2 separate regions of the Homo sapiens genome follow, and region 1 is linked to region 2. Evidence: promoter capture Hi-C in 16 types of primary human blood cells and fetal thymus (Javierre and others, 2016). All regions are on one chromosome and are shown on one strand. Each heading gives the region's core, a stretch centred on a gene start or on the middle of the fragment in contact. The rest is flanking DNA. Distances are from core to core; before and after follow the strand shown.

Evidence for each region. The method cuts DNA at HindIII sites, captures the fragments that hold promoters and counts their contacts. A CHiCAGO score of 5 or more calls a contact.
Region 1: a fragment that was not itself captured here is called in contact with the fragment with the promoter of FILIP1L in region 2 in 3 of 17 cell types (erythroblasts, M0 macrophages and M2 macrophages); the score reaches 6.2 in erythroblasts.

The regions. Positions count from the first base shown.
Region 1 is chr3:99,826,813-99,832,417 of GRCh38, forward strand. All of the region lies in intron 1 of CMSS1 (cms1 ribosomal small subunit homolog), which reads left to right. It overlaps FILIP1L (filamin A interacting protein 1 like), which reads right to left. Exons shown (of 6, transcript NM_001387850.1): 6 at 1,999-3,793. The coding sequence ends at 3,602. All of the region lies in intron 1 of LOC105374010 (a long non-coding RNA gene), which reads left to right. Among named protein-coding and RNA genes, the nearest start is that of HP09053, 5.8 kb to the left of the region's middle. The HindIII fragment of the contact is 1,217 bases long and covers 1,221-2,437 here.
Region 2 is chr3:100,109,863-100,116,059 of GRCh38, forward strand. FILIP1L (filamin A interacting protein 1 like) reads right to left here and starts at 4,639. Exons shown (of 6, transcript NM_001387850.1): 1 at 4,191-4,639. All of the region lies in intron 1 of CMSS1 (cms1 ribosomal small subunit homolog), which reads left to right. The HindIII fragment of the contact is 6,115 bases long and covers 2,675-6,197 here.

The DNA.
Region 1 (5,605 bases), core at 579-3,078, 290 kb before region 2:
GGACCAGGAAAAGACTTCAGCTTAAAAGTATCAGGTTTTTAACATTTTTGTTACAAATTGGATTTGTTTTCACTCACTTGGATTTTTATCTGCTTACTTTGAAACAGTTCATCAGGTGAAATCACTCTAGAATTATTAGGTCAGCTTCTTTTATTTTCATTTTTCTTCAGAGGCCACACTTCTGCGGAAACAACATGCCCAGGAGGAAAGATGCTTTATATTTCAGTTGTGTTACATATAGGTCAGACATTACTGTTTTGAACTCCAAATAGTATTCTCACTTTATAGTTGTATTTGCATTTTTATTATATTATTAATACATATTGCTTGAAACAAGCATGGTTTTTGGTTGTCAATCCTTTTGTTAAAATATAACTTTATTTATTGTTATTATTTTGAGACAGAGTCTCACTCTGTCACCAAGGCTATAGTGCAGTGGCATGATCTTGGCCTACTGCACCCTCTGCCTCCCAGACTCAAGCGATTCTCGTGCCTCAGCCTCCTGAGTAGCTGGGATTACAGCCATGCACCACCAAGCCCAGCTAATTTTTGTGTTTTTAATAGAGATGGAATTTCGCCATGTTGACCAGACTGGCCTCAAACTCCTGGCCTCATGTGATCTGCCCGCCTTGGCCTCCCAAAGTGCTGGGATTACAGGTGTGAGTCACCGCACCCGGCAAATGTAACTTTACTTTGAAGACTTTTGTCTTAATGGGATTAGAACTGCATTACCATTTAAAGATGAGTTTCTGCTGGTTCCCATAGAAGTGTCAACATTTTTCTACGCAAATTTTTTCTTTTTTTAATTTGAGACGGAGTTTTGCTCTTACTGCCCAGGCTGGAGTGCAATGGCGCAATCTCGGCTCACTGCAACCTCCGCCTCCCAGGTTCAAGCAGATTCTTCTGCCTCAGCCTCCGGAGTAGCTGGGATTACAGGCATGCGCCACCATGCCCGGCTAATTTTGCATTTTTAGTAGAGACGAGGTTTCTCCACGTTGGTGAAGCTGGTCTCGAACTCCCAACCTCAGGTGATCCACCGCCTCGGACTCCCAAAGTGCTGGGATTACAGGCGTGAGCCACCGTGCCTGGCTTCTACCTAAATTTTTTAGTACTTTGTATACTATCTTGTCCCTCTTTTTGTGCTTCCTCTTAAACTTATGCTAGCTTGGATAAAAATGTACTTTAGGAAGTCTCCTGACATGGGAGAAAACAATTTTGAAAGCTTCAACATACAACGTATTTTGTGCTTCATTTCAGAGTAAAATTTTTCCCAAGGTATTTTGTTTTTCTGGGACTATTGTTAGTGCATGTTGTTTTTCCTGTTTTATGCTTCTTTTCAACCTGTTTGGTTTTCACTAAGGGATTCCAATGGGTTTTTTTTCTATTAGCATAATTACCAATGTTGAATGTCACCTGGGCATAACTACTTTTCCTAACCCTGTCATACCATTGCTATCTCTTAGCATGTTTTCTCAAGTGAGAAAATGTCTTGACTGAATGGCCTTCTCTTCTTCATTTACTCATTCTCTATTCACTCTAGATTTATCAAATACCTGCTCTATGTGAGGCACAATACTAAGCACTCTGTACATACGTGTATTTTTTTTTTTTTGATGTTAGAGCTTCATCACTGCACCCTTTTTTTTTTTTTTCCCCACAAACAAGGTCTTGCTCTGTCAGTCAGTCTGGAGTGCAGTGGTGTGATCATGCTCACTGCAGCCTCGGACTTCTGGGCTCAAACAGTCCTCTTGCCTCTTCCTCCTAATTAGCTAGGACTACAGGTGTGCACCACCACACCTGGCTTTTTTTTTTTTTTTTCTTTTCGGAGAGACAAGGTCTTGCCAAGTTGCCCAGACTGGTCTTGAGCTCCTGGCCTCAAGAAATCCTCTCACCTCAGCCTCCCAAAGTGCTGGGGTTACTGGCGTGAGCCACCATGCCCAGTCTTCACCTTCTTTTGTAGTCCATCCCCTTCTACTATTCTCTTCCTGCTTTCCTTTCACTTCGACTTTTCCATTTCAGGCTTTTAATTCACTTGACCTCCCCCTACTGCCCTCTGCCACTTGCCTGCTGGGACTGCTGCCCATCATCCCTCTCAATGCTGCCTATCATCCCTCTCAATGCTGCCCATCATCCCTCTCAATGCTGCCCATCATCCCTTTCAATGCTGCCCAGGCCTCTAGCTCCTTCTCCTCCTTGAAATTGCAGGGGCCTGGGGGTGTTTGTACAGTGGCATTAGTGCAATGAGGTGGACTTAGTTAGATAAGTATGGGGAATGGGAGTTCCTTTACTCTTGCTCTGCTGGCTCCAACCCAGGGCAGCTGGCTAAAGCAGTCCTTAACCATGAGGATTTCTTCCAGGGTCATGCTTCCAGTTTTTAGTGAAGGATCACAAAAAATGTTTAGTGTCGTTCCATTGATTTTTTTCCCCCCTCGATTGAAGCTTTTTGAAATGTTTTTTGAACTGCCTTTTGTGTCAAACATGCCTTGTCTTAAAATGTCCTGTATTACTCTGTCCACACTGAATTACAGGCACACCTTTCTCTCAATTCAATGAGAGAGTTTTCAGTGTGATGTAAAGAATTGCTTTAGCTTTCTGCCAGGGGACTGTGTCTACCCTTATAGATGACTGTTTGAATTCAACATTTTGTATTAATAGTTGGGCATATTCATAGGTTATCAGAACTGGAAGGGACCTGAGGAATTATTTCACTTTCCTGTTTTACATGTGGAAACTCAAGGCTTAGATTGATGAATGCAAAGCTCGTTGTCACATGAATGAAAATCTAGGATTGGAATTTGAGTCTCCTAACCCCAAGCTTTTGTTGAATCAACTGATTTTCGATAGTGTTTATTCAGAGAAGAGATATGAATAAACAATGTCCTGTGAGATGATAAATTCTGTATTTTTTCAAGCACCTGGAATATTGATTCATGTCTCCCTAAAATATCTCAATGTTACTGAGACTAAGTGCCAGTGGTCAGGTATGCTTACTACACCAGTGATTGTCAGGTATTCTGCACAAAGGATATATTCGGCTGTTATTCACTTTTGTTATGCTTTTCCTCCTTTAAGAATTATCACTTTGCTTTTTCCCTCCTGGTCATAAAGAAATCATAGTTTTAGACCTTAAAGTGTGATTTTAATTGTCCTGTCATCTTGATGGAAATAATCTGATTTTCTTGACTCAGATTAGGAATTTTTGCTATCACCTTTTCTTAGCAAAATATGATTAATCAGCAAAGTTCTGTAGAATGAAGAATTACTTCTGTTTTCACCAGAAAACTCTTGAACTGTTCTAGTGAATTCAGTCCTATCCCAGGCTGATTCTAGATAGTTCATCTTTGGGTTAGATTATATGTCGGATGAGGAAATGGGTAGATTTGGGTGTGGGTCTAGGCCTGCGAGTGTTTGTGTGTGCATATACACATATAGAAGTAAAATAATTGTAGACGTGCTGCTTTTTGGGGGATGATCTTCATCAGGTCCACAAAGCTGCTTCACCATTTCCTGGAGAGATGGTCCTTTGGCCTTTCATAGTGGTAATTTTAGCTTTCCACATATTTCTGTAGATGAATGTATCCAGGCAGTGCATTGGTATGAGTTACCTTCTCCCTCCCACGTGGAGGAAGGTGTTGGAGGTGACAGTTCTCACGATGTGTAGCTTCCCACAGCCATTTTGGTAAATAGGCTTATCCATAGGCACTGTGGGGGCTTTAGTGGAAATCTTGGTGATGCCTGTAGATTTCGGTTTAGGGATCCGTGCTGGGATTCTCTGCTTGCATACCTCCTTGATCTTGAATTAAACAAGAGAACAAAAGGTAATTAATGGTACAGTTGGTGGAGAAGTAGAAATTGTTTAGGACATGGAGTCAGTTTGGAGGATTTGGCTTTGAAAGCACCAGTTTCTGGGGATGTATCAGATCAAAGATCGTCAGGTTGAAGAAAAGAATGTCAGTAAAGTAATCTGGTGTGTGTTGAATGTGTGCTGTGTGCACAGTTCTTGATAGAGATAGTGGTAGATACAGAGATGAATAGATATTTGGCAATCACGGTGTAGTAGGACATATACAAGAGTAGTGTCCCAAATTAATCTCAAAGAGCCATGAGATTGCCAGAGAAAGGTTAATTTCGAATGAGATTGTCTTTAAGAGTGCTTCATGAAGAATATGGCATTTGACTTGGGCCTTCAGACTTTTAAAAGTTTTCACAGTATGAGTGAGATGGGCAGCTCCAATGATGATTAGTGGAACAGCTTGGTAGTATGTATCAAGAGCCTTATGAATCTTTTCTAGGATGTAGAGAGGCAGTCAAGGATATTTGATTTTAGCATTGTTTATAATGATGAAAAATGGACAGTTAAATGAATAGGATGTGTTAAATGAATTATAGTATAATTATGACAACATGCTTTGTTAATGAGGCCAAAGCTTCAGGAAAACGTTTACTTAGATATGTTAAAAGTAGAATTTAAAACTGTGTACATGCTTTAATTATTTACATGTGAAGAGAAAAATACTAAAAGAAAATGCACCCATGCTATTGGTTGTTAACCCTGATTAGTGGACTTACAGGTACTTTTGATTTTTCTTACATTTTCTGTGTTCTCCACATATTTTATAGTAAGTATGCTATGAGAAAAAGGAACACTAAATTGTTTTAAAAGACGAAAAAGGAAGGAAACAACTTGGAGATCAGGACATTTCTGTGAACAACCATATTATCCAAGCCATGAGCAGTAGAAGCTGCAGTTGAAGTCAGTGACAGACTAATCAAGTCTGCTAATATTGTGACTATAGCATTAATAATAGCCTTCCCAAGATGGATTTCTGTGATGTCCTGTAACTTTATCAAGATTTAGATTGGGTCTCCAATTTAGTGTTCAAAAATCTATGTTGGGATCGTCTTTAAATTGTAGATTTCTGAATCTTACTCCTATGCATTGTAATTCATTGGTTTGTGGATATGTCCAGCAATTCACATTTTTAATAAACTCTCAGAGTGATTTCTTCAACTCAGGTGGTTGGCCTACCACACTTGGAAAAGTGCTGCCATAATTGAACTTCCTTTAGATGTAAGCTTTATTTTTTCTTCACCTGGAACTCTAGCCTACCTGGGTATGCATAGTTCAATACTGTGAAAGGCCGAGACAGATTGGTATGACACACAGTATTGGTGGAGCTCGTTTCTTTTGAGCAACACTGATACGTGTTGGTGAAGAAAATGTGGCTTGGAATGGTGGTCACTGATACTTTCAGGCCCAGCTGCCTGAAGGTTACTGGGCTCCTACTTGTTTCTACACCATTGATGTGCAAGCTTTTGTTTTCTAGGTAACTCCATTTTCATTACGTAGTTTTTACCTCTAGATGGCAGCAAAGGCTTGTTATTTTATCAGAACAACCCCAATTGTCATTCCTAAATCTTTTTTTTTTTTTTTTTGAGACGGAGTCTCGCTGTATCACCCAGACTGGAGTGCAGTGGCGCGATATCGGCTCACTGCAAGCTCCGCCTCCCGGGCTCCCGCCATTCTCCTGCCTCAGCCTCCCCAGTAGCTGGGACCACAGGCGACCGCCACCACGCCCGGCTAATTTTTTGTATTTTTAGTAGA
Region 2 (6,197 bases), core at 3,389-5,888:
ATAGGCACTGCAATCTGCATCTGCAAATGTTTCTTTTATGACCCCCCCCCCCCAGCACCACCCCCCAGCCAAAGAATCCTTAGTAACTTCTGTACCCATACCCACCCTTCAAACTGTTGGCAACCATTTTTTTTCTTGTTCGAAGAAGAAAGATTAGGAGATGTCATCTGAAATAGAACCAGCCCGAAGATAAATCAAGTCACTAATACACCCCTGGTAGCTTTGGGAATATAATATTTTTACATTGATTGGAAGGAAATGCAATAATAAGTTTTAAAAATTTGAACTACTAACTGCACCTGCTTAGAATCTAAAACTGGAGGGGAAAACATAAGGTTAACCCCACATGCTCCCTGATCAAATGCAAAGGTTCTTAAAATAGCTTCATTTAGAGATGTTAGGGGCAGCTGAAACAAGGAGCTGGTGTCCCTAGTCACAACCTGTCAGTTTAATATCATGGCTCAGAAGCAGCTGCCTCTGTATTTTTTTGTTTCAGGGTCAGGAGCAGCAACTCTAAGGAGAAGCACAGAAGCAGCTTTATCCCGTTTGCTATCCTCCCCTGCATTCCAATTTCCTAGTCAAGTGATTGTCCCTGGATCCATCATGAAGATACCTGTCATCCATTTCAAGCCACAAATAGAGAAAAAAGTAGCTAAAAGCCTCCAAGGAATTACAACAAACTTTAAATACATGTACAGGAAATTCCAGGAAGAACGTAAAAAAAGAAATAAAGTCGTGTATTTGCTTGGTCATAGCTAATAATAGACAATACTAGCTATGTGGCTTAACTCTCAAAATCCATCAGAAAAACCTTCTCCATTCACTGCTCTGCTCAGCTCTGTATAGCTCTCCATTACCTGTGCTTACCATTTTTCCATATAGAGTATTTTTTCTTGTGAATTTTTCCTCTTACCCATGATAAACTGCTTCTTCACAACAGCCTACTTATGCTTGCACCAGAAGCAGGATCTGGACTGGGTAGAAAATTGTCTGATCTGATGTGACAATGTTTTATGTTGCTAGGCTGGTGGTACTAACCAGCAGTGTAAAATTCCATTTGTATTTTGCATGTAGGTGGATATACTAATATACTATACTGTTCCTGTCCTAAACAGTCACAAACTTTTTAAAATCTTATTACTCAGAATAATTTTTTATTTCATTACAATAATAGGAGTCAATTCAGAGCTTTACAGCCCAGTTCGCCATATTCTACTTCATCATTCCACCCAAAAAGAAGAAGAAAAAGGCAGTAGCTTATATCTCTTTTAGCAACTAAACTGAATTTTCAAGGGCCAGAAGGAAGAACTCTAGGGTAAGGACCTAGAAGGGCAATGGAGGCAGAAAGAGGATGGTAGGGGGAGGAGTGAAACTTTCCTCTACCTGCATGTTTTCCTGTTTGCTAATACCACTTTCAAACAATAGGTCAGGGCTATGAGTACTCATGTTGAAAATGCAGAATTTTTCTAGAACTTTATTTAAGAGATTACTCCATGAGGCTGTGCGTTAGAGAAAACATTAGCTGGGCTAGTCCCTTAAATATCTAAAACTTAGTTTATCTATCTGCTGAACAGGGAATGGTAATACCTGCCTTTCCTACTACATAGGGTCAAGTGCGTAATTGATATGCGAGTTTTATACACAATATAAAACACCTTGTAGGTATAAATGACATTGTTAATGCCATTATGAAAAGTCTCCTCAACCAAGATGAGAAGCACAGTAGGGCTGCTCTTTCAGTGTAGGCTCCAGTGATTGACCATCAGATTAAACAGAAAATCTTGAACTACTGTCAGATTTGAACCCTAGACTTCTAAGAGGCTATAATACAAATTTTCTTCTGTCTTAGACTTCCTGTCTGACCCAATTCTGAAGAACCAGATGGTATTAGTATGTAAAGTTTTTGTCTAACATCTATAGCTTGCACCAAAATGTCAACATCCCTCAAAGAAGGCTCAAGTATTTGCACTAAAATGTGTTTTCTAATTCAATTATTTGATGCTGAGATGGTATCTAAAATTGTCTCCATATCTATGTTGAACAACATGCACAATACACAGATTCAAATCACTAGTAATCAGACTCTCTGTGCAGATTCCTACACTCAGGGCATCTGGAGACCATGTTTGCCTCATTCACTGTTATAATCCCAATAACCAGCACGGGGCCTGGCACAGAGTAGGCATTCTAAAATAGTTGATGAATGAATGAACAAATGAGCAAACAAACTAAGCTATTACTATAAAAGTGTTCCCCTAATATAACTAAACAAACTTACTGTGTATTGCTGGTAGGCACTAGTTCTACTCTAAGGAAAATAAAAGCTACTAGCACTTTTTCTTTAAATGTTTTTTAATGTAACATATTAGAAAGGTGAAGCGGGTATTACATTGGTAATGAAAATTTTGCTTTAGGTTAGAACATAGAATAATATGGACTGTAATCAGAAGAAAAGAAGATAGAGCCCATTACATTTAGGTTTTTTGCATCCTTGGACCTGCCTGACTCTCGGCAAGTTGCAATGGCAGTCTCCTACAATAGCACTCTATTAAAGGCACCATCATTTCAATGGCACAATAAAATATCTTCATTTCCAGTGCCAGCGCCACTACCTAAGACCAAGTCTTGACTAAATTTATTACTTAAATTTATTGCTAATTTATTGCTTAAATAAAGCTTAAGCAAAAAAGACAATTACACATGAACTTTAATAGAAGGTAAACTCTAAAAATAAATTGTCACTCTTTAAATAATGAATGCTTTTCTTTGCTGCAGAACTTTTACAGAGTATCTTTGTATTGGTTAGTATAAGAATCCAAACCCCACATTGCTTTGGGAAATTACTGAGAAAATTCTCATCAGAGTAGTAGACCTTAATTACCCAGGTGGAAAGAGCCCATGAATATTATTGCTGCCTTTAGAAGTTTTTATTAACAAACAGCTCTTACAGTATTTATGCTGATTTTTAATTAAGCATAATGAGAGTTTCATAATAGTGTCAACTGATAAATGTAGAGAAATGTTTACTTGGAATATTTGGCTTTGGGAGATAGCAGATTGATAAATCAGAAAATGTCATCACAGGAAAAACAAGTTTAACTGTAGCTAAAGGAACATTGCTGTAATTGCAATGCATTCTCTCTAGTATTAACTACACCATGTTCTCCTTTATGCATATCTAATACACACGTGGAATATGGTAGTGTAGTTAAACAGTGTATGTGTTGCACCTCTTCTATTCCTTCCTGAGATGTGAACAGATAATGAATAAAGAAAGATATGTAATCATTAATTGGTATGGAAAGAAAAAAGAATAACTGAATATGTCACAACCATTTTAACTGAACACATATCTCTCTTCAGTGGAGCGCCTATATACAAAACTGTGCAGCCACCCTAAACATTGAATAATCCTCCCATTGAGGAGTACAGTGAGCAGAATTTTCTGTGATATCATTTGGCAGCAGCCTAGCATCATTTCCCATTTATATCCAGATGTGATGTGCCCATGGATATCCAGTCATCTTCTGTGGGGTGTTACAGAACAAGTTCTTGATAGGTATCTCCCAAGACCTGCCAAAAACCTTATCTCAGAAACCTGCTTCTGTTCTCTGGCTCTCATTCATTAAATCTTAACATCAACAGAAGGTAAACAAACAAAAGAAAAAAGATACAATATAGTTGCCATTTGAAAATGTTAGTTTCTTCCATTAATCTTTCCATGAAAAGAGAATTCCTCCTCTGCAATTTAACCTATTCAGTATAATTCTCCATTTTCAACACATTGTGATGATTTTGACACTGTATATTGATCATTCACATCAGCTTACAAAATCAAGCTATTAAGAAGGAAAGCCATTTATCCAAACATACTTTTTCTTTAATTTTTGACTATCCATCTTACTCTTAACAGGATAACAATTTAAAGTTTCATTTTGGTTTTCTTTCATGTGTATCACTATAGTAAAACTTACCTACTGTCAGGATAGTTCCTCTATTTTGCAAGCAACTCTTAGTCATTTTAGCCTAAAAGTCATCATCTGTCATAAGCTCTTAATCATACTACGTTCCCTTGCATAATATTCACAAGATCCTACTTTTGGAGAGTGGTGTTGGCCGCTCCTAGCTGGTGAATAACACAGAAACATCCCAAAGCCTCTTCTCAGCAAGGATGGGGACACTTAGCTTACCGTGCAGGTACCGTGCAGGTGTTGATCACACCTGGTAATTCCTTCTTCTCATCCCCACCAAAATCCAACAGTGGAATCCAGGACCAACAACAACGTTTTCTTCTTCTCTTTTTGGACACCCTCTCAGTTTTTGTTTTGTAGGCTTGAAAGCCACCGAGAGTTTGCAACCAGGGGCCAGTGATAGCTCTGCAAAGGAGAGGCAGTGGGGAGCCCAACAACAAGTAGGCCCAAACACTAAATATTGCCCTCTTCCCTCTCCGGGCAGTGTCCTTCATGCTCTGAAGACAGGCAGCCTTACCAAAACTCTTACCCCACAGCTTGCCAGTCTCTGTGGAAGAAAGGTTCTAACTGGACTGGGCTGCAGGATGAGGTGACCCAAAAGCCAGGAACCATCTGCGCAGAGCAGACAAGTAGAGGCAGGCACAGGCTCCGTGAGCACGTCTGTGTGTGTGTGTGTGTGTCTGTGTATGTGTGTTTGCATGCCTGTGCCCAGCAGCTGCTCTCCAGATTAGAAGACACCACTCTTTGGCCAGCAACTCTGAAACACCCTCTTAGGTAATTTTAAATTCATGTGCACATCTTGGCTGAGAGTAGAAACTTCCCAAGCACAACCTGGGTCCCATTCTTTGCTGTGTTGCTACCCCAGATATATTGTGAACCACAGACAGCAGTGCTAGCACCTTAGGAACAGATGCCCAGATGGACATTAAATTGCACCTCATTTTGTACCCTGCAGCCATGAGCTGATGTAAGCCTTGTTTGTGATTTAAGTAACAAGGGCATGACCCCTTCTTTGACACCCATAACCCAAGGCACTGTAAACATTCGCTATTATTAACGCTGTGTTGGACTCAAACTTGAATGCCTGCCTGTTCCATTTAGTGTCACAGGAGACACGAGGGCAAAGTGCTGAGGAAACTCTAGAGCAACATCGGAATGCATGGTGGTATGTTTATTATTATTATTTGACATTTTGTTTTATATTATTCAAGTGTTAAGAAAACCTTCATACTTAGGATTGCTAAAATTTGAAGCATCTAATTTTCTTTAAGTAGGATCACTTGTTCAGATTGAGGGGTTGGATAGAAGGGAGGAGTTTGTTCATTTATTCAACAAATATATATTTCAGCATCCATTATGTATCAGATCACTTACCAGACATGCCTACCACCTGCCCAGTGCTCAAGTCATGCATTATCTAATTTAATCCTCACAGCAGCCCTTTAAATTAGTCCTACTCCTGGTGATCTAATGAGAAAACCAAAGATCAGAATAATTTAATAACTTCCTAGGATCTCACAGATGATAGATATAAGACTGAGGATTCAAAATTGAATCTGAGTTACTCCAAAGCCCATGCTCTTTATTTTTAATTTTTAACATCAAAATAATTTCAGACTTATAGAAAAAATACAGGAATAATAAAGAATTTCCATATGCTCTTCACTAAGGTTCTCCAATGTTTAACATTTTACCACTGGTTGTATTCTCCCTCTCTTTCTCTTTCTCTCTCTCTCTCTCTGTCTCTCTCTCTCTCTCTCTCTCTCTCTCTCTCTCTCTCTCTCTCTCTCTCTCTGTCTCTCTCTCTCATCCTCCTTTCCACCCGTGAGTTTATTTTGGTGTGTGTATATTTTTTTCTGAATTAATTTATATACTTTAGTGTGATTATCTTAAAAATGTAAGTATACTCTTCTACATAACCACAGTATAACAATTAAATTCAGTAAATCAACTTTACTTTCTAATCCATAGATCCCATTCAACTTTTCACCAAATGTCTCAATAATATCCTTTATAGAAAAAAAATGGTTTTTTAGTCCACGATTATGTGTTGCATTTAGTTGCCTTGTCTCTACGTTCCTTCAATCTTGAACAGTTCTGTAATCTTCCTTTTTTATATGTGACCTTCACATTTTTGAAGAGTACGTTTTGTAGAATGTTCCTTAGTTTAGATTTGTGTGATGTTTCCTCATTGTGAGATTGAAATTGTGTATTTTTATGGCAGGA